3 separate regions of the Homo sapiens genome follow, and all the other regions are linked to region 1. The links are contacts of gene promoters, found by promoter capture Hi-C in blood cells and fetal thymus (Javierre and others, 2016). All regions are on one chromosome and are shown on one strand. Each heading gives the region's core, a stretch centred on a gene start or on the middle of the fragment in contact. The rest is flanking DNA. Distances are from core to core; before and after follow the strand shown.

What was found. The method cuts DNA at HindIII sites, captures the fragments that hold promoters and counts their contacts. A CHiCAGO score of 5 or more calls a contact.
Region 2: a fragment that was not itself captured here is called in contact with the fragment with the promoter of MYLIP in region 1 in 1 of 17 cell types (fetal thymus); the score reaches 6.9 in fetal thymus.
Region 3: a fragment that was not itself captured here is called in contact with the fragment with the promoter of MYLIP in region 1 in 2 of 17 cell types (total CD8 T cells and non-activated CD4 T cells); the score reaches 5.3 in total CD8 T cells.

The regions. Positions count from the first base shown.
Region 1 is chr6:16,125,962-16,130,402 of GRCh38, forward strand. MYLIP (myosin regulatory light chain interacting protein) reads left to right here and starts at 3,125. Exons shown (of 7, transcript NM_013262.4): 1 at 3,125-3,448. The coding sequence starts at 3,362. RefSeq lists a silencer at 2,807-3,806. The HindIII fragment of the contact is 2,730 bases long and covers 1,425-4,154 here.
Region 2 is chr6:16,752,107-16,756,454 of GRCh38, forward strand. It overlaps ATXN1 (ataxin 1), which reads right to left. Exons shown (of 8, transcript NM_001128164.2): 2 at 1,127-1,241. Among named protein-coding and RNA genes, the nearest start is that of ATXN1-AS1, 6.9 kb to the right of the region's middle. The HindIII fragment of the contact is 8,416 bases long and covers 1-4,348 here.
Region 3 is chr6:16,770,004-16,774,074 of GRCh38, forward strand. LOC124901268 (a long non-coding RNA gene) reads left to right here. Exons shown (of 2, transcript XR_007059480.1): 1 at 1-3,491. Among named protein-coding and RNA genes, the nearest start is that of ATXN1, 11 kb to the left of the region's middle. The HindIII fragment of the contact is 3,709 bases long and covers 1-3,151 here.

The sequences.
Region 1 (4,441 bases), core at 1,875-4,374:
CAAAAAATTAGCCGGGTGTGGGGGCGCGTGCCTATAATCCCAGCTACTCGGGAGGCTAAGGTAGGAGAATTGCTTGAACCAGGGAGTCGGAGGCTACAGTGAGCCAAGATCATGCCATTGCACTCCAGCCTGGGCAACAAGAACAAAACTCTGTCTAAACAACAACAACAACAACAACAAAACTATGAAAAATGTGGGGTTTTGTTTGTTTTTTGTTTTGTTTGAGAAAGGGTCTCACTCCCTTCGGCCAAGCTGGAGTGCAGTGGTGAGATCATGATTGACTGAAGCCTGGACTTTCTGGACTCAAGCCATCCTCCCACCTCAGCACGCTGAGTATCTGGGACTACAGACACATGCCATCATGCCTGGCTAATTTTTTATATTTTTAGTAGAGATGGGGTTTTGCCATTTTGCTCAGGCTGATCTCAAACTCCTGGGCTCAAGGGATCTGCCTGCCTCGGCCTCCCAGGGCTCTGGGATGACAGGCATGAGCCACCACGCCTGGCCAAAAAGTTTTAAATAAAATAAACATGTCAGATTTTACCTATGCTTCTACAAACTATTTTACAAGCTTAGATTTTTTAAAAAAACAATGAAATCATACTTGCAAAAGAAAAATCCCTGCTAAAACCAAAAATATAAGTTATTTTTAAAGTAGTCCACAAAGTGGGTATTTGGTTTGGGTGTTTGCTTGTTTTATTTTTGTTTATTTTTTTTTTCTTGGCCAACCAATATTTTCCCGTTCTACTCATTTCCACACCTGGTCCCATTGATTCTATGAGTTTCCAGTTAGCCAGCTTTAGTTTCTATTGTTCATAAACAAAAATACTAACCAATATAACTGGTCTCCCTATTGCCCCTCGCCTCTTCTTCCTCTTCTGAAACTTCTAGCAATTAAGCATAAAGTAGACAAGGAATGAACCAAACGCTATCTTCCAGATAAATTCCCCAGATTATTAGTAAACTGGAATTCAGGGAATAGGCACTGCAGTTAATACAAGAAGGGACTGTTTCAGCCCACAATAGCATGAGGTGTATTTATAAGACAGAAAGATGTGAGAGTGCACCTGTTCCTCTGCAACAGTGGGGGTTAGGACTTGGACAGTTTACAGTTTTACTCGGTCAGCTTTAGCAAAGAACTGTGTGTGGGAGGATCCCTCCTTTTTTTTTAGCCTTGGGCTCTGATATCGTACCTGGTTGTTCGGAAATAAAGGCCACTAACAGATCCTTGGGACTCGTGAAGGGGGGTAGGGACAGGAAAAGTCATCATTAAGCAGTGAAGGCACTGAACTTATAGCTCCCCTTACATACACGGGGACATTCAAATGCTTTTGTGAACGTTATTATCTTTGCTGCGCTTCCCAACAATGCTGGGTGGAGACAGAGCAGATATTGCCATCTCCATTTTACTGTTGACAACACCAAGCTTCAGACAGATGAAGTAAGTTTTCTCTTTTTTTTTCTTTCGTTGTTTTCTTTTTGTTGTTGTTGTTGTTTAGAGACAGGGTCTTTTGCTCTGTCGCCTAGGCTGGAGTGCAGTAGGGGGATCACAGCACACTGCAGCCTCGAACTCCCAGGCTCAAGTGATCCTCCCACCTCAGCCTCCCATGTAGCTGAGACTACAGGCAGGCGCCACCACGCCTGGCTAATTTTTTGTATTTTGTGTAGAGATGGGGTTTCGCTGTGTTGCGAAACCGGGCTGGTCTCAAACTGCTGGGCTCAGGCGATCCTCCTGCCTCGGCCTCCAAAAGTGCTGGGATTACAGGTGTGAGCCATCGAGCTGGCCTGAAGTAAGTTTGCTAAGTTTCCACGGCTGAAACCCACATCATCTGGCTCCTATAAAGAAATCAAAAAGGTAGGCTATGTAATATATTGGCAAAGAGGAACAAGCGGTAAATGAGTGAAGGGTTGTAGACCTTTAATAGCTAATATTGCAGTAATGCCACCTGTTAGGTCAGGAGATGAGCACCTTACCTTAAGACGAGGACAACATCTGGTTGCCTGTGAGAAGGGACAGGCAGGGTATCAGGTGCTGCACAAATGTTTAATGAATGAGTGAGATAAGACAGGAGGTAGAATGAGCAACCTGAGAGAGGGCCTGGTACCCTGTAAGGCGTTTTGATTCAGCAGAACGAGTAAGGAGAAGCCCTTCCGGAGTGTAACACACCAGCACTAGACCAAGACACCTGGCTCACTGGTCAGCTGCAAAAACTTTCATACTCAGATTTTGTTTTTCTCAATGATGAGGTCTTAATAAGGAACAACAATTCTGCCTCCAAGCAACCCACTGTGGCTAATCCTGGTGGAAAAGAGTTTTCTTTTTCTCTTTTTTTTTTCTTTTTTCTTTTTCTTTTCTTTTTTTTTTTTTTTTTTTTTTTTTTTTTGAGACAGGGTTTTTTGCTCTTCTTGCCCAAGCTACAGTGCAGTGACACAATCTCAGCTCACTGCAACCTCCGCCTCCTGGGTTCAAGCGATTCTCCTGCCTCAGCCTCCCAGGTAGCTGGGATTACAGGTGCCCGCCACCACGCCTGGCTATTTTGTTTTTTTTTTTGTATTTTTAGTAGAGACGGGGGTTTCACCATGTTTGCCAGGCTGGTCTCGAATCTGACCTCAGGTGATCCACCCATCTCGGCCTCCCAAAGTGCTGGGATTACAGGCGTGAGCCACCATGCCCGGACGAGAACAGTTTTCTTTAGGCTTTGGGTTGCTCCTTTTCCTTTTTGCTTTCACAACCGAAATGCGTGCTCAGAGTGATCCAAGATATTTGAAGAACAGTGGCAGCTTGGAGGTGTTTAATCACCGTAAATTCGAGACGGCAGAAAGGCGTCCCCGCCTGGAGCCCCGGGCGATCGCTCACTCTGAGCAGCGTCGCCCAGCGGACAGAGGCGGCTGGTGTGTTCCGGGGTCTCCCTCCCTTCCCGCAGCACTCGGCGCCCGCAAGCTGCCACCTCCCGGGGCGGCCAGGGAAACTCAGCCGGCTCTGGGAGGCGGGGGCCGCGGTCGAGGGGCGCCGCTATTGGCTGATCGGGCGGGGGAGGAGGGGCAGGGAGGCCGTGATTGGCGGGGACCCGAGCTGAAGGGGGCGGGGCCGCTATATCAGCAGAGTCCCTGTCGCAGCGCAGGCAGTTGGGCTGCTGGAGTGCGGCGCCACCGCGGAGGACAGGGGCAGCTGGCGGGCAGCGGGTGAGGGGGTGGCGGGGACGCGAGTGGCGGCCGCGGGGCCCCGGACAAGGGTCCGCAGAGCTGCAGCCTTCGAGGGCCAGCCCTCTCCGAGTCCGGGGCTGGGTCCCACCAGTGACAAGGCGGCAGCCCCGCGCACACCAAAGAGAAGGCGGCTGTGGCGGCAGCGGCAGCCCCAGCCATGCTGTGTTATGTGACGAGGCCGGACGCGGTGCTGATGGAGGTGGAGGTGGAGGCGAAAGCCAACGGCGAGGACTGCCTCAACCAGGTGAGGGCGAGGGGCAAGAAGGGGCCCCGGCGGGTCCCGCGAGGCCGAGGGGCCTCGCAGCGACGCCTGGCACTCTGGCGCGCCCCCTACTAGGGGCCGGGAGGCACTGCGGCGGCAGCCGGGGGGAGCGCGTCCCCTCCTCTCCACGGGCGTGGGGCGCGCGGTCTCCTCCTGGCGCGCGTGGGGTGCGCGGAGAAAGCGCGCAGCGGGGGTCCCCAGCGCTGAGGGCCGGGCGCAGCCCGCAGCCGGGATCCACCCCCCAGCGCCCCATCATCCCCCCAACCCAGCACTTTCCCGGAAGAAGGCGGCTCCGCACACCTGCCGCAGGTATGTGCGTGATGCCGCCTGTCGGGTCCCCGCGGCGCCTGGCAGTGCCACCCGCGTGCCAGGATGGGATGGAGTGGCTCGAAGCAGTCTCGGGCCCCAGGGGTTCTTGGCAGACAAGCCGGGCCCTTGTCTCACGCTGCTTCTCAGGCTGCTGCTCTCAAATGCACCGTTCACCTGCATCTCCGGGTTTGCGGGGGACGGGAGGAATAGGTTTGGGTCATCTACTGCTCGGTTGTTTTTAAGCATGTGTTTCCTTAACAGTGAGGGAGATCGGTGCCAAATAGTGCAGAGGTGGTATGGCAGACAGCACATGTGATCCCAGGAAAACGCTGTGCCCTCAACCCCTCTAGCTCTGAGATGTTTGGAAAACCGCTTGTGAAGCTTAGCTGACACTTGTGGCGTGTTCCCTCAATGTGTTTGATTTTTGGAGTCCAAATGGTTAAAATTGCCCAGATAATAAGTCGCCAAAAATCAGCTGTGCAGAGTATGCTGGTGGAGGGAATTCCGGTGATTGGAATACGAAGGAAAATACCCTGTAGTTTCCCCTCCTCATCTTTTGGAAGGCTACTTTTGAGGACTCCTTTTTTCTCTATTGCAATTGGTCATGCCCTAGACGTTAAAAGGAATTATGAGCCTCCATACTAGAGCTCGTGGTTTGGTATCATT
Region 2 (4,348 bases), core at 1,410-3,909, 630 kb after region 1:
CGGTAAAGAGGCAGCTCTTTCTTCAAAGAAATCTGGTCAATTATTGTTTAAATGAACCTGTTATAAAGCAAATATCCATCTACCTCTTGAAAAATGAGTTTTGAAAATTCAAATTTTCAAATGGGAGATTTGCTAAAAGTAGAATGAGCTTCTCACCAACTAAGTCTACAGAACATAACTTAGGAAGAGTTGCTGGAAGACCGGCCGACCCAGGGGTTCCCAAACCTGTGGAGCATCAGTGCCTAGACAGATCAATGATTCCAGCAGGAAACATTCTGATTCATCAAGTCTAGGGTGGAGCTCCAAATTCTATTTTTTTAAGCTCTCCAGGTGATTCTGTTGCCTAGCCAGGCTTGGGAACCTCTAATCTAGTCTGTCTTCACAGTTTCAAGCAGGTCCATTTCCAAGGCAAATAGAAATTGATCCCCTATTTTCTATTTCACAATCTCCCTTGGTTACATACACTCAAACCCTTGTGTTCCCAAGCCCTTACTGCCCCAAGTTCTAGCAAACCTCTTTTTCCTTCCTGATTTAATTTGAGGCAATATCCTCTGGCCCTTTCTTCAATAGAGAACCATGAGTCATCACCATTGCATACACCCTATGTCTGCATGACTCTCCAGGCCAGAAAAACTTACTGTACGTGGGAAAATCAGGAAGTTGTAAAATCCAAACAGACACAAAGAAATTCAAGATTCAACAAATACTGGTTCCCCTAAACAAATAGGTCTCTGTTTTGCTACGCACATATTATACTACAACAGTAATCTAAAATGCAAAAACTGTGACTTAAGATATCTGGTAGCATAGCATTCTTAATTGTATTAAGGAAAACTGACAATTAAAATGATGAGGTTCAAGCCCCAATTGGCAATTATCAATCATCGCAAAGTCAAATGAAAGTCTTCATGAACATATAGATTAAACCAAATAGATAGATACTTTAATCGAAGTTTTAAAAAACAATCTTGGCAATTTCTCAACTTCCCACACTATGCCCAAACAGAGTTTGCAAAGAAAATGATATTCAACAGCCAACAAAGTAAGGGAGCATGGCTAGGAGGCAATTTTCCAGGTCAGGACTTTATCCTCAGATGGAAAACAGAGAGCATCGCAAAACTCTCACCTGACATGTGATGCACTTCCCTGTAGTGGCAGTGGAGGAGGAGATTGCTGTACAAGGATGACAAACAAATCTGCAGCTTGAATGGACCACCCTGGTGACTTGATGCACGATGCTCCTGCAATGGTCGAGGGAGTGCAGGAGAGGAAATCCAAAATGAAAAACAGAATAGACTGCTTTAAAAAATAAGTCCACCTTAAGTGTCTATGCACCGAAATACAAATTTTAAGAACATCACATTCGGCATTCTGTTGTATGAGAATTACACAGATCCCAGCCAGCTCAAAAGGCAGGTCTGGTTTTACTCAACAAGGCTCAGAGGGAGGCCAACATACAAAAAGGTCATCCCTTCCATCAAATTAAGAGGATGGTCTCCCCATTTGAGCCAGCCGCTGTCATTCTTTTCTCCAATGATTCTAGCCAATCATCTGATAAACACATGCTGGTAACTACAAGGAGTATCAGGTGAAAATGGGCATGGATTGAATAGTAATTGAGCCAAAGCCTAATTTTAATGTGGCATATATTATCTATCAACATGCAACTTGAAACACAATGATGAAAGTGCACAGCTATTAGCATACCAGTCCAATGGAATAGAAGAAAGGAAAAAATGCAGAAAAAAAGTGTAAAGTGTGCATTTATATTCACTAAACTTTCCACTAAACTTTATTTAAATACTGAATGTACATCTCATTTTCATTTTGCCACAATTCCTTGCACATGGTTAAGTAAAAATTTTCCATTGTATGATGAATGAGTGAATGTGTGAATGGATGAATGAAAGAAAGAATGAATGAATCTTCCATATACCTTTCCATCAGGGAGCTTGGTGCTTGTAGTAGTTTTTGTGAGGTAAAACCTATGCATAGAAACGGAAGAAGTTGAGGACTCGATCTGCTAACGTATTTTTTTAGCCCTATCCATTAAAATTATATTCTTAAATACCGGTAATTACCAATTATCCACATTAAACAGAAAAAAAAATTTTTTTAAAATCAGTAGCAGGGTTACTATAAAATCATCCCCAAACTAGTGAATGCTGGACTGATTTTCAGTCTTTGATTACTGGAGCTGATCTGCACATTTGCTTAGGCTGATTTTAAACTTAGTTTGGGTTTCCTAAGCTCACGCCAGGTAACAGTAGGAAGAAGGAGGCCCAGGTTTATATTGGATGTCAGAAAGAAACTATTCTGGAGCTATGAATATGATCTCCAATGTGAATAATCCGTAAACAGGTAAGTGAGCCAATTATCCTTGGGTACATGGCAACACATCTCGGTACTCATGATTATTTTCATCCATACACACTCACTATTTTTAAGAGCACAGCCCAGCTGGAAAGGAAAATAACTTCCACTTCTTTCCAGCACTTTTCAAAGTAATGAACAGTAGCCAAAATGTTCTTACTTCTAACTAATCCATTCACCAAGCATTTATTTAAGCATTGATTGCCTGCCGAGGACTGATATGCAAAAGAAGGAATTCTTGTAGTCCTTGGTTTCCCCACATGTGATCTGTGCGTACAGAGAAGGAAGGTAAGCTGTTATACACTATAAGGTCTTTCAGATCTTTAGAAGGCACAGTCCCTCCACCAAGAAGCCTGTTGAGTTACAAATATAAATAATGGCCAAGTTAAGTAGAAGTTGACAAAATTCTATTTAATCTTAGTACTTCTTTAAGGATGAGGAAGCAGGGAGGGAGGATCATGATGTCATCTCAAATTAAGCATCAAAATACTTGATTCTCAAATGAGGTGCAGGTACCATAAATTTACAGACAGTGCTTTTTATGAGCTCACCAGTTGGGAGAGTGTTTGCCTATATGACAATGTGTGTGCACACAATCCTGTTTACATATCACCTGGCAGATAAGGTTTTATAGAGTCCAAGTTACAACCTCCTCCTAGTTTGCTGAAGTGCAGAGGAGGGTCAAACATGATGTAAATGCCATAGAAGATTACTTTACTCTTGCATGAGTATGCTTTCTTATTTCAAAAGTATTTGTGTTGCTGCACTAGTTAGGATAATACAGAGAGTTTACATAACTTGTATTCCATCAGAGGGAAGAAGGCAAGAATACAAGCAAGGCAGCACGTATTCACTGCAAAAACTTACAAAATAATATACCAGAAAATAATTTATAGGACATTTTATACAATAATATACACCAAAAATGGAATACTCAATATTTTTAAAACCCAGCAGAGCAACATAATACAATACTATTAATATTGGAAGATTAACAAGAAAGACGGCCTAAACAAAACTGAGGTAATGGTCAGTAAGTACCAGGAGATAATGTGAGAAAGGGGAACAAAATTAAGGGCACAAGAAAATAAAGTTTGCCATACACAGTGACAGAAAAATATATTTTCTTTGAACGTTAGAAGGATAGATGCTATAGGTTAGTAGCTACAATAACTGTCACGAAAAACTTCTGCTACCTAACTCATTCAAAACTTGTCATGTTAAAGGGCACCTAAGTGTAAAAAAAAAAAAAAAGAGTTCCTCTTAGCCCAAATCAAAACATCACAATCGGGGAAACCTCTGCCCTCTTGAGTCTCAAATTCTGAGTACACTACCATGAATTTTCTGGAAAGTAATTTTCAGGTAGGATACAATTTTTGCTTACATTGTGGCAATTATCATTACATTTTCATTACTCCACAAATGGGATGCATTAAAAGTTACAGAAAAATCAATGAAACATTTCTGCTAACATGAAATATGTCAAACAAAATATAATGCTTGTTGCTTTTTTGTCCATAATTGTTCTCTCTAAACGTGTTTTGGTACATTTGGGATGGTAGTAATGCGTAATACAAATATTTATAGTACATTAGCCTGAAAGTTCAAATTATGAGCGTTATAAAATATATTACTACACTAATAAAGACAAATATCCATAAATATAATTATAAAAGAATAAAATAAAAAACTTTCCATAAGATTTGTCTAAAACCATTCTTTTTATTACTTCTGTAATTTTAAGCATTTATATATTTTTAAAAATCTCAATGTAATTACCGTTCTTTCAGCCAACATTTAAAAAATTCTGTAAAACTGACACTGTATATCACTTCTTAAAAAAATTTTGAATGAGTACATTTATTTTATTAAACTAAATTACATGAAAATAAAATGTGAACATAATTGATGACTTAAAATTCTTATCTTAGAAAAGGAAGTTCTATATGTAAGGTCCTAAAACAGAAATTATTAT
Region 3 (4,071 bases), core at 47-2,546, 640 kb after region 1:
GATTTTATCCTCATGCTTTTGAGATCCGGCTCAAGCATCAACACTTCTGTGAAGTCTTTCTTGATTATCACAGGAGTCTGCGGCTCTGCCCAATGTGTGAGTCAGAGAAGTGCTATTTTCTTATTCTTTTTATTTATACAATATTTTTTTAAACCTCTAACCGAAAAAAACAGGGCCATAAGCACAGATGGAGAGAGTATCCTAAGTGGGAGCTCTCTTACTTGAATACTTCCTGCTACTCCCAAACCCATTTGACCTCCCTTACAGTTTCAGCGTGCAACTGCGCTTCCTTTGTTTATGCTCCAATTATGTGACTCCCCTCCACTGATCAGTTTTTCATGTAACTTTCCACTGCCCTCTGTTATGAGTTGAATTGTGACCCCAAAAGATACATCGAAGTCCTAACCCCAGTAACTATGAGTGTAGCCTTATTTGGGAGTAGCATTTTTGCAGATGTAATTAGTTAGGATGAGGTTTTACTGTTTTAGGGTGGACCCTAAATCCAATGCAACTGTTGTCCTCATAAGAAGAGAAGACACAGAAACAGAGGAGACACAGGGTAGATGACCATGTGAAGACAAGGCAGAGACTGGAGATATGCTGCCACAAGCCAGGGAATGCCAGGGATTGCTAGCAACCACCAGAAGCTAGAAGAGGCAAGGAAGCCTCCTCTCCTAGAGCATTTAGAGAAAGGATGGCCCTGTTGACACCTTGATTTCAGACTTCTAACTTCCAGAACTGGGAGGGAATAGATACCTGTTGTTTTAAGCCACCCAGTTTGTGGTACTTTGTTATAGCCATCCTAGGAGACGAATGCACCCTCCTTATGAGATCCATGATTCCAGGTCTGTTGGATTCTCCTTTCTTCTCTTTATTTACGTATATGGCCCTACCTCTTCCTGCTGCAGATACTCCTAGGTAATCTGTTCTGGATGTACTTTTGGTCTTGCACCTATGACAATACCAATAAACAAAGAAAAGGTCTAATGGAATAGAAAACTTACAGAGTTCTAGAACCGCCTCCTCGTCATCCCAGAAAAACATCTGGCTTCTGGCTCCAGGCCTCAGAGAGCACAAGTACATTACACTCCTGCACGGGGCGTCAGCTGGTGTCGGCGTCCTCCTCGGCCCTCCTCAGCTCCCTCTGCTGGGCGCCCGATGCACCAGCAGCTTCCCTCTTCAGAAGTAGTCTTCCAGCATGTGGGTGGGGTTGGGGTGAAGAAGAGACCGCAAAAACTAAATTAATTTGATATTGAGGAAATACAATGCTAATTGTTTGGCTTTCTTTTACTGTCTATTTGAGTGTTATCAAAGTGCTTATGAAGACCTTGGTCTTTCTGATTCTCCTTTTTCAAAAAACCAAAAAAAACCGAGAAGCTCATTTGTTTCAGGAAGTTTCCCTGAGCGAGTGGAAGGGGAGGCCTCACACTGAAGCCAGAATACAAAGGAAGTCCTCTTGAGATGGATAAAGCAGTTCTTACATGCAAATCTCAGAAAATGGCAACTCCATCTTTCCACCTGTTCAAGCCCAGAACCGCTGGCAGTGTCTTGACTCTCTCGTCAGACCCCACATCCAATTTGCCAAAAATCCAGTTAAATCTACCTTCAAAACATATCCAGAATCTGACCATTTTTCAGCCCTGGGACTGCTACCACTGGAGTTAAACCACCACCGTCCTTCGTCAGGGTTACTGCGACAGCCTCCTAAATTGGCCCTTACTTCTCCAGTTACCGGCCCACACCAGTCTACTGCCTGCATTAGGTTGATGCCACAGCTCTGCTCAGAGACCAAGGGCTCCCCCAAGGTCAAGTAAAAGCCCTTCATGGCCTACAAGGCTGGCCTCGATCAGGTCCTCAACTTTTCTGATCTCATCTATCCCTGTCCTTGCTCCCACACTGCCAGCCTCACTGTCCTCTTTGCTGGTCCTCAAATAAGCCAGCTGCTCTCTTGCCTCAGGGCCTTTGTATTAGCTGTTCCCTCGGCTTGGAATGCTTTTCCCTCTTGTGTTCGCATGGCCCACTCCTTCATCTTCTTCAGGTTATTTTTTCTAAGAATCAACCTCCTAGTGAGGCCTGCTGTGAACACCCTACTAAAAATTCTACTCCCTCACTTTCCCGATCCACCTTGCCCTGCTCATTTATCCCATAAATGTGTTGCTTTATAACATTCTATGTCATCTACTTTGTTTGTTTGTTTATTGTCAGGAGGGCAGAGATTTTTTTTTTTTTTTGTCTGGCTCATTCATCTAGAATAGTTCTTGGCACATGATAGACACCCACTAAATAGGCATTGACTATTAAATGAATTAATCAGTAATGTTTTCCAGAACCTACTATGTGCAAAGTTCTGTCAGCCCCCAACACAATGATTATCTCATTAGGAGCTAATCCAAAACTAATCCATCTGGTCCACACTATGGTATAATATATGTTCTCTTTACTTGACCTTTGCCTTAGTGTCTGACATGACTATTAAAGCTGAGTTGGAATGAACTGAGTCTCACACTCAGGCTTTGCAGATGTCATTTCATTTCATCCCCATGATGATACTGTGAGATAGAGATCATGATTCTCACTTATTAGGTGATTAAACTGAGGCTTGGAGTTTAAAGGACCTGCCCAAAGTTCAGGGTCACCCAGCACTGGTTTCAAAGTGAAGTTATCCACCTATGCAGCTTGAGAATTGTTAACAAGTCATTACCTGAATGAAATAGGACAGTTACAGTCATAACACTGCATTGCAATGTTTTGGCTAAGGGACCATTTTTAATCCAATCTCTAGTTTTTGGATTATACATGAATTGTGAATAACACCTGTATCCCAGAAATTAAAGCTAGTGATGCTCATTGAGAACTGAGTATTTCTCCATAAGCGAATTGGCTTCAGATCAACCTAAGTGGTTTCCCAACTAACAGAACTCTATTCCAGCTTATAATTTTTACTCATGCTGCTACATGGGCTGGAAATGATTCTCACTTGAGGTTCATGCTTGAATCCCTAGAACCCTTTCCTATTAAAGTCCTGTCTAAAGTATCCCATTACAGTAAGGACGAAGGAGATCGTAAAGGGCCAACATGAATTCTCAAGGCTAATTTAATGACTTAATTTCCTTCAGTTACTCTGGGCTGAACTTCTCCTGTTCTACCCGCAAGCTTCCCAGAGTCCTCTGTGACCAGAATCGAAGCATAGTGTCTGAAAGTAGCCTGGCCACACAAGATGTGCAAAACACTGTAACCTCTTCACAGCCTCACTCCACTTTGTATTTGAGGGAAATGATTCTAGAAGCTGAAATAGACCAGAGTTCAACAGTCTGGGAAATTTGAAGAAGAAAAAAGGAAGAGAAAAAAAAAAAAAAAAAAAACCAAGCCCTGCATTTGCAGAGATGTGAAGAGAACCCAGCTCTCTGAAGTTGGAAGGAAGTGAGAAGACCCTATTTGTGGCTGCAGGAGAGGAAAAGAAAAGAGACCCGCAAGGAAACTACCAACAGATGGTAAATACATTTTTAATTCTTCTGTCATACTGTGTGGACTTGTGCACATTTGTCCTGCTGTGTTAGGCTCCCGAAATAGCTAGCCATGGAATTGCAGAACAGTTCTGCTGCAATTTGAGATTTAGGAAACCATGCTAGCTGACAAAACAGGAAGGGCTCATAGTAGGATGGAGTGGATTTGCTCCCAGTTTGCAGCTCCTCAATGTGGCATCTGCTGTCATTCTTAGTGCAGGAAAATTCTCTCACATGTCAGGTCTCATTGGTGATGTTTTGCAACATACTATCTCAAATTGCCCCCCGAGCCCTAGTTATAATTATTAAATGTTGACACTATGCATATAACTCCCAAAGATTAAAGAGAGTGAGGTCCATTGATTTATGAATCCTGAGTCCTCCAGGGAACATCACAAACACACATGGCAGCCCAGATCTCTTCACCTAGTCTTCCTCATACTTTTGGTATGAGGTTGCTCTACAAGAACCTAAAGAGGTAGGACACAAAAGCACATTCAGTTGACTCCACATCTGAGAAGTGACCAGTGATTGGTACCAGGAATGAGTTAGGTTCCCAACCCCAACA